Linked DNA regions of Homo sapiens: region 2 is linked to region 1. The links are contacts of gene promoters, found by promoter capture Hi-C in blood cells and fetal thymus (Javierre and others, 2016). All regions are on one chromosome and are shown on one strand. Each heading gives the region's core, a stretch centred on a gene start or on the middle of the fragment in contact. The rest is flanking DNA. Distances are from core to core; before and after follow the strand shown. Region 1 holds the start of KYNU (kynureninase). Region 2 holds the start of MMADHC (metabolism of cobalamin associated D).

What was found. Contacts are between HindIII fragments. The CHiCAGO score rates a contact against its expected background, and 5 or more counts as called.
Region 2: a contact is called between the fragment with the promoter of MMADHC here and the fragment with the promoter of KYNU in region 1, in 1 of 17 cell types (total B cells). The highest score is 5.9, in total B cells.

The regions. Positions count from the first base shown.
Region 1 is chr2:142,875,332-142,880,332 of GRCh38, forward strand. It overlaps KYNU (kynureninase), which reads left to right and starts at 2,333. Exons shown (of 14, transcript NM_003937.3): 1 at 2,333-2,405. The HindIII fragment of the contact is 4,288 bases long and covers 1-2,408 here.
Region 2 is chr2:149,585,223-149,590,223 of GRCh38, forward strand. It overlaps MMADHC (metabolism of cobalamin associated D), which reads right to left and starts at 2,553. Exons shown (of 8, transcript NM_015702.3): 1 at 2,442-2,553; 2 at 1,867-1,927. The coding sequence starts at 1,875. MMADHC-DT (MMADHC divergent transcript) reads left to right here and starts at 2,136. Exons shown (of 3, transcript NR_110240.1): 1 at 2,136-2,628. RefSeq lists enhancers at 1,764-2,963, 2,280-2,599. The HindIII fragment of the contact is 5,011 bases long and covers 2,272-5,001 here.

The DNA of each region.
Region 1 (5,001 bases), core at 1,083-3,582:
GTTTTGCTCCCCATTACATCCCTGGCATTTCACTTTGTGCTTGGTACAGAGAATATGCTTAATACTTTTCTTGAATGAATGAAAGTGTCAACTGAAGAATGACAGGTTCATACATTTGGAAAGGAGAGCTTCATTTCACATAAAGGATTGCAGCCTGCAGGGTGATCATTCTGACCTCTGAAAAGTATAGCCTCTAATCAGAAGCTGGAAACAGACATTTTGAGGGAGGAGCAAAGGAAACAGAAATTTATGTTGAGCAGGGTAGCTGAATATATATATTCAATAAGCTATAGGGGAAGCCATGAATATTTGTGAAAGGAGAAATGTGCACATGCACAATGGAGTTTCATGCTTCTCCATGGGATCCGTGTTCAAAAAATGACAGCATTAATACAATCTGAGGGGGCAGTTTTCAGCCCAATGTGAAGCAGAGGACATGAAAACCTTTACTGCACATTCTCCATAGACTAGCCAGAAACATTCCATGATCAGTATTTTCTTTTTGTTCCAAACCACAAAAGAGAGGGATAACACCAGGTGATGGTTGATGTCATTGGTGTAATCTTTTGAAATGACTGGTTTCTTTTTAGCCATAGGGCAGAAAGCCTAATCATAGTTAGTGATGGAGCGGGTATGTGTTCCACTTCCTATCCTGTCATGGCCAAAAACTTAGTTTTCAAGTTTACTCTGGGATCCCCTTGGCCAAGAGCGTGTCCGTTCAGTTAATCTAGGGGCTTGGGATTTTATTTTTATTCCTCAAATGTAACAAATTTAAAGAAAGAAAGAAATTTATAAAACATAAGAAATAGAAGTATAGCTTAGACCTCCAAGCAAGTTCTTTAAAGGTGACAAGTTAAACAGTAGTTTTTAAGATAATATTTTGATGAAATTTTTAATCATATTATTACAAGATTTTAGAAGAAGCAAGATCTTGTGAAAACAAAACCTTAATGTCCATATCTAGCTCTCTAAATCTATAGTCAGTCTTTAAAAGAGTGACACAAAAATGACACAGATCCGCCCTCTGGTTCGCTCCCCATATATTAGAGCCTGGTAATCTTCCAAAGTTTTTACAGCATGAGGCATACACAGAATAGATGCAAAAAAAGTACACCTTCTGAAATTTCCTGAATGGATTCAAACTTTTACTATTCTAAGTTAATCAATTGGTAGTCTACTTACTTTATAGGATTATTGTAAGGATAGGATCAATGAAGTGAAATATATTTTATTTTCACTGGTCAATTACTCGTATTAAAGCAATTTCATGCACTTTATCTCCCTCTCTTGGAAACTGGAGAGTAGTACTTTTTGTCTGGTTACTTAAGATTAAAAAAAAGACAATATGTCACTTTTGACTTGAGTGTCATGGTATCTATGGCCTTCAACCTGCATGGTTTTATCGTTTCAGTAATCTTGGGAGGAAGGTATTATTAAGTTCATTTGATAAATAGGAGACTGAGCCTCCACAAGGGTTAAGTGAATTGCTCAGGGTTATACAATGAACACTTGATAGAAATGATTAAATGACACTTTACTTGATTTGTTGTGGGTTACTAAATAAAGCATAGGTGTGCATAAGTCATTCAATTATTCAAGCACATTCTTCATCCCTAGTCCTAATATCGAAAGTCTTTGCTCTTAGTTTTTATAACTACAAGGATATTCATCAAAAGACCCAAGCTCAGGAATAAGCCTAAAGAGGTAGTCAGACTAGAACAAAAGACAATTCACAGACTTAAATGAATAATTTGCATTAATGAAGTTTGCCAGGCTAGTTTCCACTTGAATCTTCAGATCTTTCTTCCTTCATTGTCTTGTTAACTGTCCAGATTTATTACCTAGGAGTTTTTGAAAACTCACATATTAGGCAATAGAGTGTATTCTGGAATTGAGAGCCTATTTTAAACTTTTGACTAAAAAGTTTACCCATTAAATGTCATAGATTCAACCATCAGACTGAAAATCCTCAGTGTATTTGAAGGAGGGTATTGTCTCAAAAATCCAGAGCTCAAAGTGAAGAAGAAAGGCAAAATTTGGAATTTAGCTCTAAGACCAACTCATCAGTTCAGGGGTCAGAGATTTATATAGTTAAAGGACAAGTGTGTGTTTACCTGAGTTTAAAGAGCAAAGTTGCCTCTGGAAAGAAGCCCTCACTGGAGGCTCTGGCATTTGAAATGGTGGGCAGGAGCACATGTTGCTTAAATTTCTGACAGTGGCTGGAGATTACCGATTGGTTAGGGGAGAGGAAGTAAAGTAAAATATTTATAAATTCTCCACTGGGTGGAGTCTGAGCAGTTCTTTGAATTTCTCACCCTAAGATCTGGCCTGTACATTTTCAAGGAATTCTTGAGAGGTTCTTGGAGAGATTCTGGGAGCCAAACACTCCATTGGGATCCTAGCTGGTAAGCTTGAGGCGCTGATAAAAACTCTCTACCCTAATGTTTACTCCATGTTTTTTCCAAATGAAACTTCTGTCAGCTAGAATCCTTGTCATAGTGTTTTAGAGGTTTTTTTCTGCTACTCTCTTCTTTTTTTATATATATTCTTTTTGTAAATAAAAATGGTATGACCTTCCTAAAGGCCCCACCTTTAGAAATGGGTTAAATGAAAAGATCTTTACTAATGTAATAGAAAAGAACTGATGAACATAGTGCACTGAATATGGTTACATTTGACAAACCAAAGTTAGTCCTGTTCTTATTTGAGTTTAAGCGGTAAGATTAGGTCAAACTCCAGACGAGGGAAAGATATTCTTAAACAGATTTTAAGTCCTCTGTTTTCTGGTAACTTTAATTGTCTTATGCTGCTAGTAGTCATATTAAATATTTATTTAGAGAAGTGAAAATGCCTACTCTTGAACAGAGTTTCTTCCCCTTTCATTTTATGAAACCTAAGAAAAGAAAGTTGATACACTTTTTAAAAATATACTAGATTTTCTTTTTTCCTTTCTGCTTTTATTTTGAGGCCAGTGGGGTGTTATTTAGTAGTAACACTGAAGCAAATGTATTGATTTTCTTAACGTGTTCAGCAAGTAATTCATATCCTAGATATGAAATATACACTCGTAGCAGAGTAATGTTACCCATTTCTCAATGATATGCTTAAAGAATCTTGCTCAATATGCATATTGTTTTTCCTTTTTTCTTTACTAATGAAAAACTACACGCTTTCTCAACATATTTTTAAGTCAGGTTCTAAACTTTGAACTCCTATGTACAATTTGCTTATTTCAGGCATGAATGTGAAACTGTGTAAAGATTAACTACCAGACACTCAGTCATTTATTTAACTATTTAGCCCTAAATCAGTGGGTGACTAGGAGATTCTGAATTCTGTGATTTCGTTAAAATCAATCAGTTTTTAATTATTATACAAGCTTTTTACTTTAAAGTTGTAGCTGTCTAAATAAAATTGTGAAAGCACAATTTCCAAACCTAAATCGAAGGCACATTGATGCTGTCCATCAGAAGGTATTGATAATTTAAAAAAATATTACAAACTATCTTTTATCTTTTTATAAAGGACCTAATGTCATTTGAGCTTAACCATAATCCTTTGAAGAAAGTAAAATTTAACTTTAAATAACATTGACATACAGAGCAGTTAGGTGATTTGTCTGAGACCATATGGTATGTATGTCCCCCGTCTTGATAAAATTAACACTAAATATGTAACATTTGAAAATTTGTAAAATATGTAAAAGTTGAAGTTTTTAAAAGTTTGGATTTAAGTTCTTCCTTTCAGAATATGAGCATGTCACTTTATTTGCAAACTAAACATGGCATAACATTATGGCTTGTGAACACTAATTGTCTTAGCTGCTGGGGTGAATGCAGAATTAAGCAGCAATTAGTATGAGTGAATAAATTGCATCCTTAGAGTGAGTGCACTATGCTATTCTGGGAACTAAAGACTATATTTGAGACCATGCGAAGTTGTGCAAGTGGTGGAGTAGGGCAGGGTGCAGTCATTTGGAAGACTATGCCCATCAGGTATCTCAAGGTACCCCAGATGTGACAGGCCCAGGAGCGGAACCAGCCACTTTAACTTTTGCCTGGCTGAAACTGGACTGGGAAGGATGGATTAAAAAGGTAAATCAATTCATACGTAGCTTGTGGTCCTTTGCAGCTTAAGTGTAGGACTGAAAAAAGAAGCCAAAGAAAAAGGGAATGAGCTGAAGAAATACACACACGTACACACACACATCAGGAAGCAACAGGCAAGGAAAAATAAAGTGAGAGGTTCAAGGCTTCGAGGAGGAATTGAGCTCTGTGCATTCCATTCATGGGCTTTGCCAAAGACCAGCACAATGGACTCAGCATCTCAGGCATGGTTAAGTACCCTACTGTGCACTCTGCTATCCTTTTAGTCCACTGGTTTCTACTCTGTCTGTGCCAGGTTTTCATCTCAATATAGAGGAAAAGGATTCTGATGCCTCAGGATTATTACAAGCATTAAATAAGATACAGATAGAATGACGCTAATGAGTATCATTTTTAAAATAAGGAAAGTTGAATTTTATTCAGAATCTGTTGGTAACAAACTAATCTCTTTATTTAAGTAACCCCACTTAGAGTTTAAAGTCACCTCCAATCAACTCAAAGGGCTGACCTCCCAAAGAAAGTCTCAAATATAAGGCAAGCTCTCTTGATTCTGAATTTCATTAGAAATGTTTGTCTAAGTCTTTCTCATATGGTCAGAATGAGAGAGGGTGCCCTTCTAGTAATATGTCATTATGTCAAATAATTCATCAACCAATTTTGTTTATTCTCTCGAACTGCCACTTTGGCGGCAGGGGTACTCTGTCTAAATGAGATGTCTATAAAGATAAATTAAACATGATTCAGGCCCCCAGGTAGAGTTCAGTTCAGTAGGGTAGAACAGCAACTCAGTCCAGCTACCATCAGTAATATGTTTGTAGTAAGACTAATCTGATAGTAAGGCAGAAAAACATCTCATGGAATTTTAGGAATAGCCAAGAAGATGGGTCCCCTGGAG
Region 2 (5,001 bases), core at 1,303-3,802, 6.7 Mb after region 1:
AGGAAAAGCATTTATTTTATATATGATTAAATTCAAACTTCTAGACTTGGGAAGATGACATGCTATTATGTTTTAACTGTAAAATCCTTATTAGTATATAAAGAGAAAGTGCCTTTTGTGCACTGCCTTAGGACTAAGTTCTGCTTTTGATCATGTGAGGAAAAAATATGGTCTGTACAAAAACTAAAAACTGGTAGTTTATGTAGTGCATCCACATCTATCCAGACATTTTTGTGCATCCCACAGTGTTGCAAGATATTTGAATTAAATACAAACATTGAGAAATCGCAATATTTACACAAAAGGTCCAGAAATTTGGCTCTTCTTGAAAACTCAGAAGATCTGGCAGTATTGGATTCACATAACCAAATGGCATTAGTTAGCAACAAATCACTGTAGCTAAGGAAAGGTTGCTCCCCTTTGTTCAGAAAGGCTTTGTCACAGTCCCCATGAAGGCTTCTTAATGTACCTGTCTAGACTCTGAAACATGAACATTCTTGCCCCTTGTTATGAAACACTATCTGCATATTTCATTAGTAACATCCATCCACAATTTACAATCCATATAAATTAACACAAAAATTGTTATCGTACATTTGGATACTGAAACTTAAATTTATTTTAATATGAACTTCTTTCTAACAAAAGACTTATAAAAGGATCTTCCCTACTGAACTATTATAATTTATTCATTTAAACCAAAATAAAACCAGGTCAAATAATAGCATTCTATTCTACTTCAATTAATTTCTCTCCTTTGAAAGTACCACATACTTCTTTTACAGCATTCTCTTTCTGTGCAGGTTATGGGCAGGCAAAAATTCACCATAGAACTTGGCCAAGACTAGTAATCTATTCTTATGACTTGTCTCTATAGTCACACTTTAGACTTAATATACCATGTTCAATTACAGAAATAGCATCCTGGCTAAATGCTGCCATATAAATCTTCCTAGCACACAGCTCTAAGTGAATAATCACAATTTAAAGAATGAAGTCTAAATTACTGAGTTCGGCATTCAAGGCTCTCATTTACTTGGTACCAACCTCACAATTCAACCTTATCTCCCACTTATCTCTTTCATGCAGCTTACATTCAGGTTGGCAGGCAGCAGTCACTTTTCAGTTTTTCAAAGGGGTAGGCGGGTTGGGGAGTTCTTTGAATATACCTTCCTGTCCTTCCCGCTCATATTTTAGACTATACAAATCCCACCTATCTTTCAAACCTCAAGTTAAATGTTTCCCTCATGAAGTGATCCCAAACTCCTCTCCACAAAGACTTGAATCTGCATTGCACCTTCGTGTAGGTTCTAAAAAAAATTATTACTTTATACTTTAATTGTAGCTGTTTTTATATATGTCTTATGACCGCTACATATGAATTCTATAGATAGGATGTGTCTAATCACTGCAAAGTTACAGTCAATAAATATCTCTGGTGTGTGAGAGTATCTCCTATTCTTATTTTGTAGGATTTAGAAGGTCACTTCCAATATGGAAACTGTTTTAAAAAAAAGAAAAAAAGATTAAAAAAACCCTTCAGTTTAGCTAACCCAAAAGCTAAAAAAGGGCCTAAACATAGATTCTAATATTTACTGAAACGCTGTATTTAAAAAATACCGAAAGGGTGCTTGAATTTCCACATCTGTACAAATGAAATTGTATAAATAAGTGTATTTGCAGTGCAAAGAATGCTACCATCTTCAAAGCATAACATAATTTCACACCACTTGCTTCCCTTGACATTTTTGATACATTATATCTAACACTATACCACCCAATGCCATCATAATTAAACCCGTTCTTTCATTCCTAACATTCCCAAACGAGTTTACTATGCTGATTCTTAAGAGATAATTTACTCACATTGGCCATCTCCGCTGGAGAAGATAGTTCGCAAAATAGCTTTCCTTTGGTAAAGTTATTTCTGGGAAAGAACACAACAAAACAGACGAGTGATCGATTAAACTCTAACAACAGACAACTGAGGTAACGTCCACTCTTCGAAGGTGTGTCGTCCACCACGTCAGGACCAAAGTCCAAGCTCTCCCCGTACCCTAAGGAGGCCAGAACTCGCCCCCATGCCAGGCACAGATCCCCCAGCCCGGAGCCGGCAGTGCAGCTCAGAGCCCTTCCGGTTTACAGCCGCGGAAAAACAACTCGGACCAGATCCGGGAGGGGAATGGGGGCTGGGTGGCCAAAATTCAGTCCAGAGGATCGAAGCGGCTGCTTTAACAGAAGTTGGGGCTGCGTAACAACAGCTCCAAGCAAAGCTTCAGGCTGATCGGAAAGATGAGGAAGCAGAAAAGAGACTAAAGACAGACGGACAGGATGGCTGGGGACAACGACAGGGACCCAGTGAAAATACGGGCAATACCGAGGGCTGTAACCCTAACACGGGCAAATTTGGAGGGGCTAACATGGGCGGAAACCATCCGTACCAGTCACCACCACTGTCTCCAGCTGTCCCAGAACCGGACTCTTCCTGCCATCAAAATGGCGGCGGCGACGGCAGCGGTGGTAGCACCTACGCTGGCGGTGAGCAGGCAAAGGAAGTTGCTTCCGAGCGCGTCGAAACGATGATGCGCACGCGCAAAGTAGGCCTACGTGGAGCCGACCTGCCATTGGGTAAACGCAAGGGAGGAGAAAAGGTGGGGCAGGGGTGATTTGGGTGGATGGATAGGAGGGCTTCCGACCTGCGTTAGGCGGGTCAGTTAATCTTCAGTAACTCCTTGATGCGTTTGATAGTCCTCCCAACTTAAGCCTTCCTTACTGCCTCCAGGAGATACAGTCTTCTGTTCTTTTTGTCATAGTTGTTTATTTTTCATGAATCGCTGTTTTTGAGCATAGGGCACTTACCTCTTTCTGTGTCCCCAGCCCTACCACAGTGCCAGGCTCTCAATATGCTCGATAAATATTAGGCGATTGATTTGTAAATCGTGTATCATTTTCATGTATCTAATACTTTTTTAAAAATTGATTAAAGCCCATAAGCCCATATTTTATTCCAGATGTCCTTAGTTTTCGACCTGGTATTCTTTTCCATTCCAGGATCCTGTCCGGAGTACATCACCATGTCTTCCAGGCTCCTCTGGACCGTGACCGTTTCTCAAACTTTCCTTGTTTTTGATAACCTTAATAGTTTTGAAGCGACTTATTGGTCATTTGGTCAAATGTCCTTCAATTGGGTTTTGCCTGTATTTTTCTCATGCATTAACTGAGGTTATGGGTTTTTCTTGAGTTAAGAGGTAAGGTAAAGTGATCTTCTCATCACATCACATCAAGGGTATATACTATCAACATGACTTATTACTGTTGATGCTAACCTTTATCACCATTATTACAGTGTCATACAGAAAAGTTTTATAGTTCTACAAAGATCCCCTTTGTTTCATCTAGTAAGCCCTTCCACCTCCCTATGTAGGGTTTGTCAGGTTTCTCCACTGTGAAGTTACTGTTTTTCTTTTCCTCTCCATACTATACTATTTGGAAGGACATCTCTCTGTGCAGCCCAAACTATAGGAATGGGAAATTGTTATACTCCACCTTTATGAGGACAGAATATCTTCATGAATTATTTGGAATTCTTCTGCATGGGAGATTTGTCTGTACTGCATTTATTTATGTATTCAATCATTTATGTCAGTATGGACTCATGGATATTTATTTTACATTTTGGGTTATAATCCAATACTACTTTATTTTGTTGTTCATATTGGTTCCAGCTTTGGCTATTGAGATTTCCTTTAGTTGGCATTTGTGTCTTTTTGACAAACCCTCCTCGTTTTATGTTTATTGATTTTTTTTCTTGAGCATTTTCTTAATTTCTATAAGTTGCTCCAGGCTCATCTTGTATATTCCCTGCCCCAATCCTAGAATCAGCTGCTTCCCCAAAAAGCCAAGGGTACTTTTAATGGAAAATGATATTAGAAATCAAGATTTGGACATTTGGGATGTTGTTGCTTCTAGACACTCTCAGCTGACAGAGCAAGGAAATATTTGTGGATATGCTAACCTGACTAAATACGCATATCTGTAAGTATTTATATATGTATCCATCTGTATCTTTGACAGCTACACAGGCGTTCTAGGTTCAAATACTAGAGCTGTTATCTTCAGTTCAATTCCAGCACCATATGGATCATTGCAGCCTTCTCCCCTTGCTTGTCTGTAGCCTTCCACTCCAGTGTGAGACACCTGGCTCTCATCATCTGCCATCCATTTACCTAATTGTTCAATTCCAGGTTACGTGTATAATGGATTCAGAACCGTCAACCCGTATTCAGAGTACATGTATAGTTGTTTCTGAACTGTTATCAGGTATACCTGTGAGAAACAGATTTACCAATTAGAGTACAATGCTTATGTATAGTTCTTTTGCTTTTAATCTTATAGATTCCACTTATTTTCAAAGTTACTGAAGTCAGCAGCCCTCCCTCCTACCTCTACCCGGCCTCAGTGAAGTTATTTTATATGCTCGTAATACAGTTGTAATCTTTTGCCACAATCTGCATTACTCCTGGGATTCTTTGAGTTCCTAAGATTTTTTAAAAAATCTTCCTCCGTTTAGGTTCTGTTTGTGCAATCCTCATAATGCACATTTATTTTTTTCTTTTCCTGTACATAATAGCAGACAGCTGGTCAGTAGTGGGATAGAAGTAAAAATTTTTTTAACTTCAAATTTTCTTTCTATGGGGTTTGACAAATCCATACATAGTGTCATGGATCCACCATTATTAGAGTGTCATACAGAAAAGTTGTAGTTCTAAAAAGATCCCCTTTGTTTCATCTAGTATTAAACCCTCCCACCTTCCTATACCTCTAGCAACCACTGATGTGTTTACCATCTCTATAATTTTGACTTTTCCAGAATGACATAGAAATGGAATAATACAGCATGTAGCATTTTCAGACTCATTTTCTTCACATAGTAATAGCTGCATTTAAGATTCATCCATGTTTTTGTGTGGCATAACAGTTCATTCCTGTCTTTTTATGGAT